Linked DNA regions of Homo sapiens: all the other regions are linked to region 3. Evidence: promoter capture Hi-C in 16 types of primary human blood cells and fetal thymus (Javierre and others, 2016). All regions are on one chromosome and are shown on one strand. The core of a region is centred on a gene start or on the middle of the fragment in contact, and the rest is flanking DNA. Distances in the headings are between cores, read along the strand shown. Region 1 overlaps SLC5A10 (solute carrier family 5 member 10). Region 2 overlaps SLC5A10 (solute carrier family 5 member 10). Region 3 holds the start of LLGL1 (LLGL scribble cell polarity complex component 1).

Evidence for each region. The method cuts DNA at HindIII sites, captures the fragments that hold promoters and counts their contacts. A CHiCAGO score of 5 or more calls a contact.
Region 1: a contact is called between a fragment that was not itself captured here and the fragment with the promoter of LLGL1 in region 3, in 1 of 17 cell types (fetal thymus). The highest score is 5.1, in fetal thymus.
Region 2: a fragment that was not itself captured here is called in contact with the fragment with the promoter of LLGL1 in region 3 in 1 of 17 cell types (fetal thymus); the score reaches 6.7 in fetal thymus.

What each region holds. Positions count from the first base shown.
Region 1 is chr17:18,958,627-18,961,660 of GRCh38, reverse strand. SLC5A10 (solute carrier family 5 member 10) reads right to left here. Exons shown (of 15, transcript NM_001042450.4): 2 at 2,908-2,979; 3 at 2,422-2,526; 4 at 1,998-2,057; 5 at 1,009-1,113. Among named protein-coding and RNA genes, the nearest start is that of SLC5A10, 8.0 kb to the right of the region's middle. RefSeq lists an enhancer at 1-581 and a silencer at 581-740. The HindIII fragment of the contact is 7,255 bases long and covers 1-3,034 here.
Region 2 is chr17:18,997,195-19,000,211 of GRCh38, reverse strand. The region is part of intron 9 of SLC5A10 (solute carrier family 5 member 10); the gene reads right to left. The region is part of intron 2 of FAM83G (family with sequence similarity 83 member G); the gene reads left to right. Among named protein-coding and RNA genes, the nearest start is that of FAM83G, 6.1 kb to the left of the region's middle. The HindIII fragment of the contact is 7,329 bases long and covers 1-3,017 here.
Region 3 is chr17:18,224,385-18,227,551 of GRCh38, reverse strand. It overlaps LLGL1 (LLGL scribble cell polarity complex component 1), which reads right to left and starts at 1,917. Exons shown (of 23, transcript NM_004140.4): 1 at 1,789-1,917. The coding sequence starts at 1,869. RefSeq lists silencers at 1,456-1,625, 1,776-2,255. The HindIII fragment of the contact is 4,006 bases long and covers 1-2,727 here.

The sequences.
Region 1 (3,034 bases), core at 531-3,030, 730 kb before region 3:
CGGCCTCTGCACCTCCATTCCCTTCACTAAATCGACGCCTCTTCTGGGCTTTCCTAGTCCCAGGACTGAATGAAGAGGGCCCAGGAGGCCATTTGCCTCTGAGGGAAAGCTGGGCCTCACAGAGCACTTCCCGCAGACACAGCAGCCCTCACACGGTGGTCCTGCCCATTGCTACCACCAACTCACAGGAGCCCTAGGAGACAAGGTCTGCCGCCCCTCCTTACAAGGGAGGAGCCCCAGGCACAGGGAGGCTCGGAGGTCGCAGGGGCTAGTGTCAGCTCTCTCAGCCAGAATCAGGCAGCCCCAGGACTCAAGCCCCTTCAGAAGCCTGGGGCTGGATGAAGCTAGCTGCCCCCAGGGACTTGGAGTGAGAGCAGAAGGCCTAGTGTTGCCATGAGGTCACCGGGAGGGTTAGGACAAGCTCTTTCCCTTCTCTGGGCCTTAGTTTCCCTCTCTGTAAAGTCAGGGGCTTGGACAAGATGAGCTCTATGCTTCTCCTGACCCTGACATTCGAGGTGTGCTCCTGCTCTTAATATGCCCGTGGGGGCAGGGCCAGGCCCCCAAGGATGGGTGTCAGTGATGGAGCCCACCAGCCTTGGGGTGAGAGGCAGGTCAGCTCAGTGCAGACCAGATGTGGCTAAGACCACGTGGGCTTTTGGCGCCCCCTAGTGGGAGATCGTGGCTCACCCCGGTGCCGGCCCCAGAACTGACCTCAGACCGAGAACCGTCCTAACACCCTGTGTCTAGAACCTGAGGCAAAGCAGAGGTCACCAGGTTGTGTTCTGTCCCTGACTAGGGCTGGCTGCTGAGCCTACACCCCGGGGGCCCTGGACTACCTGTCCAGACTCGCTGCGTGACCCTGGGCAAGTCATTGCCCCTCTCTGGGCCTCAATTTGCCCAGCTGTTAAACAAGGCAGAGATGAATGAGAAGATGTCAGGTCCTCTTGAGGGGCCCACAGATTGGCGATGTTTCCAGGCTATGCCAGCAGGGAGCCGGGGGCAGCTCACCGATATCTTGGTGAAGACAGACAGTAGCAGGGACAGGACAGACAGGTACATGCGGATCCGCTGGCCCCCGTAGCGCTTCTGAATGTACTCAGGTAAGGTGACGATCTGGGAAGGCACATGGGTAGGGGCTAAGCATCCTCCAGATGATGCCCAGGGCTCCAGGCAGGGCCTGTCTCAATCACTCTGCCTCTCCCCCCGCCACAAAGCAGCTGCGAGCCTCTCAAGGGCAAGGCCCAGGCACTGACCCCTTACAGCCCCAGCACCCGGCCTGGAATCCCGGGCTGCTCCGGCTGCGCCCCGAGGGTGTCAGGCAGGGGAGTGGCAGGCTGAGATCCCTAGACTGGCTCTTTAGGGCTGAGACGAGGAATGGATTGGAGGGGCCGTGGCTGGGACAGAGGGACAAGTTTAGAGGCTGTTATGACAAATCCAGGTGCACTATGATGAGGCTGGATGAGGGAGGTGGCTGTGAGGGGCAGAGCTGGGGACAGGCTGAGAGACATCCAGGAAGTGGAGTTGACTGGACTTAGTGGCTGCATGGCTGGGGCTGAAGGAGTGGGCAGAGTCGACGATGGTGCAGCCAATTGTGCGGCCCAGGTGTGCCATTCAGGTACGCAGCCCAGGGGTACAGCCCAGGTATGCTACCCAGGTGTGTGGGCCAGGTGTGCAAACCAGGTGCATGGCCCAGTTGTACAGCCTATGTGCCCAGCTGGATGGGACATTATTCCTGAGATGCAGCACTCAGGGCAGTGGAAACCAGCCAACACGGCACCCAGGCTGAGGTCTGAGGGGATCCACCTTAGCAGGTTGATAGAAATATTAGTCGGGATCCACCTTAGCAGGTTGATAGAAATATTAGTCGGGCTAATAGCAAACCCAGCCCTAAGAGTTTACCAACTCCTGATGTGAGGCCACGGTGGTCCTGCCCATTACTACCACCAACTTGGACCAAGGCCCAGCCCCCCAGCTGGAGGCCCCATGAGTAGACTCACCTCTGAGGAGATGTAGATGGGCACGAACACCCATGCCAGTGCCAGCAGCACGTACGTGGCCTATGGGGACAGAGACAGGTGAGGACTGCAGGTGCAGCTCCCACAGCTCTGCTCCAGAGACAAAGCAGACATGGCTGGGATGAGCCATCCGGAGGCCTGGCTTCCCCCAGCCCCTCCTGACTTGCCATGAGATCCTGGGTGGCTCCTTCCCCTCTCTAGGTCTGGGCAAGGCCCACAGCTCCCTGCCAGTCGTGCCATCCAGCACCTTGGTATTCTGAAGACACGATTTGGCCCAGGAACAGCACTGCACAGAGCCCACCTGGACATCGGCTGACACCAGCCACTGGGAGCTGTCCCCCTCCAGTGCTGCGACCACATCCTGTGCCCTGGCCCTCCCACAGGCCGCCAGTCCTCCAGGACTCACATTCCACTCGAAGCCTGCCACGGCCAGACCTCCTGCCGCGCCTGAGCCCGCCAGTCCAATGAAGAGGCCAGAGCCCTCGCTGCTGGCGAAGAGGGAGGCTCCAATCTGGAGGAGAGAAAGGGAAACGCATCAGCAGCAGGCTCCCTGCGCCGGCCCCATCCTGGGCCTAATAGCTTCTCCCTCATCCTCACAAACCTAAGCGGGGTCCTAGCCCCACCTCACGGATGAGGAGCCCAGGGTGTGTGTTCTACCCATGACTAGCTGCACAGCTAAGGAGCGGATGTAAGTTTCAGACTCCATAGCCCCTGCCCCTTACACAATTTCTAGCAGCTCAGCCCTATGCCCCTCACTTGGGGACCTCCTGCCAGCCTCCGGCCTGCTCCACTGAATTGGACTGGCTCAAAGATACAGATGCCAGGTGACCTAGAGATCAGACACAGCCCCACGGACAAAGTGGGGGTGTGTGAGAAGTCAGGGTGCACTCACCGGCCACCACGTCATGTCCCGGCCTGCCAGGAAGTAGCCATTCACCGTGTTCCTACTGGCCCGACAAGAGGACTGCAAGAGGAGAAAAGGGACAGGAGTTGGAAGCCCGCACACTGCTGCTGGGAAG
Region 2 (3,017 bases), core at 14-2,513, 770 kb before region 3:
GCTCCTACTCCAAGATGGAAGGTCAACTGCCTGCCCCTCCCCTAGCCCCAGGAGCCATGATTTATCTGGGAAAAAACCTGCTGTGGGGTTCCAACTACATACCAGAGGACGGGCTTGTAAGATCACGCCTGGGAGGGGCGAGCCCCGGCCTCACTTGGCTGCAGCCTGAGAAGGCGTGAGGCTGGGCTGGGTTGGGGCTTCCTCAGCCAGAGCTGGATGTAGATGTTCTAGCTGGTTGCTCCTCCAGCAGATGCTGAGCCCCCCTCAACAGGACACAGCAGGGGGGCCTTAGCAGGATCCCTCACCAGCCCCAGGGTGAGGCCCCAGGGCAGGGACAGATCACACCTTCCTTATTTCACAGTTGAGGAAACTGAGGGCAGGTGAGGCGCCGGTGGCCAGGGCCAGAACACTGATCTCTGCATGCCAGGCCAGGGCTTGGGAACAGACCCAGAGAAATAAAGTCGAACCCAGGTTTCACGAAGCCTGATTCACCCCACATTTTTTCTGTCAGGCCCCCGCCTTCACACACTGAAGTCCTGGCCCACAGCTTGGCTCTGAGAGAATAGAAGCAGCTTAATGAGGTGCTTACTAAATGCCAGCCCCGCGCCAGGTGCTGAGCGGGCACTTTACCATGCTGTGTAATCCTCCCCACAACTCTGGAAAGTAGGTGTTGTCTCCATTGTGCAGATGAGGAAACTGAGGCTTGGTGGGGCTCGGAGATGGCAAATAACTGGCCTGAGGTCACAGAACTGATATCTGGAGGGACTGGGCCGAGACCCCCAGTCTGCAGGCCCTGAGCACCCTCCCATTCCCTGGAGAAGCAGTGGCACTGTTCCTTCTGAGCCCTACCCCTGCATGGGAGCACCAGAGCCTCACTGCTGGATCCTGTTGACTCAGGACAGTAAAAGCATTTTCTTTTTTTTTTTTTCTTCTTGAGACAAAGTCTTGCTCTGTCGCCCAGGCTGGAGTGCAGTGGCACGATCTCTGCTCACCGCAACCTCCGCCTCCAGGGTTCAAGCGATTCTCCTGCCTCAGCCTCCTGAGTAGCTGGAATTACAGGTGTGCGCCACCACGCCCAGCTAATTTTTGTATTTTTAATAGAAACGGGGTTTCACCGTATTGGTCAGGTGGGTCTCGAACTCCTGACCTTGTGATCCACCCGCCTCTGCCTCCCAAAGTGCTGGGATTACAGGCATGAGCCACCGTGCCTGGCAGTAAAAGCGTTTTCATGAGGCTCCTTGGCAGCTAAATACTGGGCTCTCTGGAGGAGGGCTGGGACGGGGACTCACAAGAACAGGGTGAGCTCTGTGGCCTGGGGACCAGGAGGAAGGCCACTCATTGCATCCTTTAGCTGGGCAGTGCCAGGACAGCTCCCCACACTGCCAGAGGCCACAGGTGGCCCAGTTGACACCTTGTGGGGCGCACAGCTGGCCCAGGCTCCCACCACAGGTCAGAGAGTGGGTGGGGAACCATCTGATAAAGTAATCCCAGGTGTTAACTCCTGTGCGCTCCAAAGGCTCCCTTCCCTTAATTAAGAGTTTCGAGGAGAGCCGGGAGCAGCCCTTCGAGGAAGGAGCTCTAAGGAGAGAGTGCCTGCCCGTCTGGGCACTCCAGTGGGACAGGCAGCTGCTCAGCCACTGGGCTGGCCTCCTTCCCACAACCCCAAGAGCCAGGGCCTGCCGTCATGTTCATATCACAGCTGGGGAAACTGAGGCTCAGAGTCGGCTGGGGCCTTCATAAGGTTACACCAAGGGTCTTAGGTGTGGCTGGACCTGGATTGGGTCTCCCTGGCTGGAGAGGGTCTCCCTGCAGCTGAGGGTCCTGGCCCCTGGGCCAGCAGAGAGTGCTGGTCCCACTTAGCCACTTGCATGCTGCAGGACCCTCGGCCTCAGTTTCTTCACTTGTAAAATGGGGATCAGGCCTTGTCTTGACGCAGTGATAGACAGGAGCATCCAAAAGCACTGAGCTACCCTCTGCCTTGAGAGCAGCTGGGGAGGAAGATGGGGTCCCACCCTGTGCCCTGGCCCACGTTGGCCCCAGCCTGGCAGGCCCTGGCCTGGTTGGGCTGTCCTAGTCCCCTTTAAGGGTCTGAATGACCCCTGGGCTCGAGTACCTTGCCAGGTTAAATGCCATGTGGGGTGGTGGGAAGACAGGCTTCCGTATCACTGGGACCCAGGCATGAGCCCCAGCTCTGGTGTTATCTTTAGTGGCTGCTTGGAGATAGTTGCTTGGCCTCTCTGACCTTCTGTTCCTTCCTCCTCAGTGTCATGGTAGTGCTAACAGCTAACACCTGCCTCATAAAGTCAGTGAGATTTAAATGGGAAAAAGTGTGGTGTGTAAAACACTCTGTGTCTGGCATGGAGCTGGCATCGGTAGATGCCAGATCTCTCCCCTCGCCTCCTCCACCTTCACTCCTCACTCCTGTCCTGAGAGCTTCTCTCTGTGAGTAGTCTGGGGTGGAAGTGGTGAGCTCCCTGTCCTGGGAGAAGTTCAAGCAGGGGCTCACTGGAACGCAGCAGAGAGCATGTGGGCACCAGGTGGCCTAGAAGCCTCAGCCCTGCCCTGGTGTGCTTTGTGACCTTGGGCAAGTCCTTTCCAAGCCAGGCTTTCTGGGGCATTAGGATGCTTGATGGCCCCAATGTCTGTCGCTCTTGGACCCTGGAGAAGCTGAGGTTTTAAAGGCTTTTGAATCTATAGTTTTGAGATTTTCCTGTTTGAAAATTCTCAGCTGGTGCCGTTTGCTGCCCACATGGGATGGTCTGGTTGGCTGGATCCTGCGCCTGCAAGCCTGGAAGCTCTGAGGATTCTGAAGCTCCTTGCGGCCAGCGGGAAAGGATCTTGCCCTCTTGCCTCATCCACAGGGAACAGCCTTGGTCACCTCATGGCCTTTCCCCAAGCTCTGCCAGCCCCTTGTCTTTGCAGTATTCCTGAGCCATGACCAGGAAGCTGATGTCCGTCTGGGGGAGGTAGGAGACTCAGGGTAGTGCCTTCATGCCACTGGGCTAGGCTGAGCCTCC
Region 3 (3,167 bases), core at 668-3,167:
AGCCGGGCATGGTGACACGAGCCTGTAGTCCCAGCTTCAGGAGGCTGAGATGGGAGGATCACCTGAGCCAGGGAGTTGTGAGGCTGCAGTGGACTGTGATTGTGCCACTGCACTCCAGCCTGGGTGAGAGTGAGACCCCATTTCAAAAAAAAAAAAGTGACATTTAGCCCTGTGCCTGTTGCTGCCTTTCCCTGAAGGGCCATTCTCCTCTCACCTCACCCTCACAGCCTCCCCGGCACAGAAAATAGGTGCCATCTGGGGACCACGGAGCACCAGCTTCCCTTCTGGGCCCCTCTCAGGTTCCTAGCAGGTTCTCAGCCACCGTGTGAGGGTCCTGGCAGCTCTCATCGGCAATCACTGCAGACCTAGGCAGGGAAACCCTGAGACATCCCAGTGCCTCCACTACTCCAGGTCCAGCCGTCCCAGAGCCTCCTCCAAGACAAGTGTCTCCTCAAGGCAGCCCAGGGCGCCTGGCACAACACTGGCCCAGGACCACAGCAGCCCCTTGGAAAAATCCCTGCCCCTCAAGGCTAAAATCCAACCCCACTGACACAAGAACTCAAGAAAGATATTGGTGCAGCTCACTCTGACTCCGGGCAAGCCGTCACCCCTCTCAGAACCTCAATTTTCTCACCTGTATTTTGAAGATAACTCTAATTTCGAAGAGCACTGAGAGGCTCTGCCATCAGTGGGCTCTGGGGTAAGAATGAGGACAAAACCAACGTCCCCAGAGCAGTGAGCCAGGAGTGGGCTGAGGCCCTGCTCTAACATCAGTGCAGAGGGAGGCGGGGGCTGAGGCGGCCCCTTTCCCTGGCCCCTAGTGTCCCACTCCGGGAAAGGAAGGAAAAGCCTCCACCTCACTCCACCTTGGTGCAGAAAGGCAGGACAGCTGGCCCATGTGGCAGAGGGAGCCAGGGCCCACAGTATGGAGAAAAGTAGCCTCATTTCACAGCTAGGGAAACTGAGGCCCCACGATGCGAAGTGCAGTGTAGTACACAGCCAGGCATGTCCCCTGGACTCGGAGCCCCGGGCAGGGCAGAGCAGGGCAAGGCAGAGCCTGGAGCAGTGGGGGAAGGAAGGAGAGGCTCCTTGAAGGGATTTCCCAGCCGCACCCCCCACAGCTGCCTCGCCCCCACTAACTCTCTCACCCTCCTGGGTGCCAAAGCACAAAACAAACCGGGCCCCAGGGCTGTCCCAAGGGCCGAGCAGGGACGCAATGGAGCCCCTAAGAAAAAGGATAAAGAGACAGAAGTGAGCGACAGAGGTCGAGAGACTCCACAGAGACAGAGAGAGAGACACGCAGGGAGAGACAGGCAAAGAAGACTCAGAGACGCACAGGCAGCAAGAGAAATGAGAGGCAGAGAGATAAAGGGAGACAGGCAGAGATAGGAAGGGGCAGAGGCAGAGACACCCCCACCACACACACAGGCACAACTGGGGCGAGACAGCCGGTCAGCGGCGGAGAAAGAGGGACAGAGACCCAGAGACAGGCAAAGAGTCTCAGAGACAGACCCCCACACACACAGACTGGCAGAGCCAGGGCCAGAGCGGCCCGCAGAGACTCGGGGAGCAGACACGGAAAGTCGGCCGGAGACCCAGACCCACCCAGAGTCCGAGCCAGAGCGGGGCCCGCCGAGGGGGTGCGCGGCCCGGCCCGGCCCCGCCCCGCGCCGCGCTGCATGCCAGCCCCCGCCCCCCGGGCCCGACGTGGCTCCGACCCCGGGCCCCCAGCCCAGGCCCCCGTCCCGCCCCCTCCCGCCCGAGCCCGGGCCCGGGCCGCCGCCGCACCTTGTTGAAGGCGAAAAGCTCCTGCTTGAGCTTCTCGCGCTGCGGGTCGGCGCCCTGCCGCCGGAACCGAAACTTCATCATCTTGCGCCCGGCTGCAGGCGCCTCGCCCGCCGCCGCCGCCCGCAGGATGCGCCGCGCGGCCCCGCGGGTCCTAAGGCGCGGGCGGGGCGCCAGGCGGCCCGGGCGCGGGCGCGCGGGGCCGGGCCTGCACGGGGGTGGGCGCCGGGCGCGACGGACGCGCCGCCCGACCAGTGAGCGAGCCCGCCGTGCCGCCCGCCCCGCCCCTGTTGGCCAGACAATGGTGAACTGGGCCCCCGGGCTCGGCCGGGCTCGCGAAGGGACGCCCGCCTAGCATGCGCCGCGGCGCGGGGCCTGCCGGGACTTGTAGTCCATGAGCCGGGGCTCCAGCGCGGGCGGCTGGGGAAGCGCTTTGGAGGGGGATTGGCGCACGTTCCCGGGCTTGGAGGAGACTTTTTCCTCCTCCCAGAGAGCGAGCGACGTGCCCACTCATGTAATGGGGCAGCCCTGTTCCGAAAGCCAAGACAGCTCTGACTGGAACAACTCCCTGGCCCCTCTGCGCCTCAGTTTCCCCATCTACACCATTGGTCAAGTGATTGCCAAGTTTATATTTTACCAATTTCACAGAACTCCATTTCGTCTGTTCCCCGCTCTGTCAGAGCACCTCCCACCGCCGTGCTTTTGCCTTGGCTTTGTAGTCAGGAATTCTTTCCTCACCCCCAGCCCCTGGGGAACTCCTACACATCTTTCAGGACCCAACGCAAAAGGCTCTGTGTCACAGCACAGGGGATTCTTTCTTAGCCAAAGAAAGAGACGGGATCCCCAGGAGGTGGCATTTGGGACTGTTCTGGGGTTGGATTGGAGCTTTACGGAGATGGGGGAAGGACCTCCCCCCGCAGAGAACAGCGTCTGAACAAAGCTTAGCCCTGCCCCTACTCTCAGGGGCCGTCTGCCTGTCCCCACCCACCTCCCAGGCCTTTTCTCATCTGGACAATGGCCTCGAGGCTGAACCTTTCCTTCCAGGCTGAGGATAGGCCGCCTGGCTCAGGGCTGGGGCTGCGGGAGGTCCTAGAAGCTTAGGTGGGGCAGGTAGGACAGGCCCCAACCCCACCAGCTGTGTCCAGGGAGCAGGAGCTGACCTCTGAGCCCGAGGCGGCTGCCAAGCCTTGGGGCCTGGCTGTCCCCCTCCACCCACGCCAGGCCGGCGGTGTTCAGCCCTTCCCCGTATTTGGGGCTGGATCCGGAAGAGGGCCCAGGAGTGAGTGAGGAGGTGAGAGGAGGGAGAATGACGACAGTAAAGCCCCTAAGTGTCTACTGCGGGGCAGGCGCTGTTCAAAGCCCTTTCCTGGTTTCAGCTGACT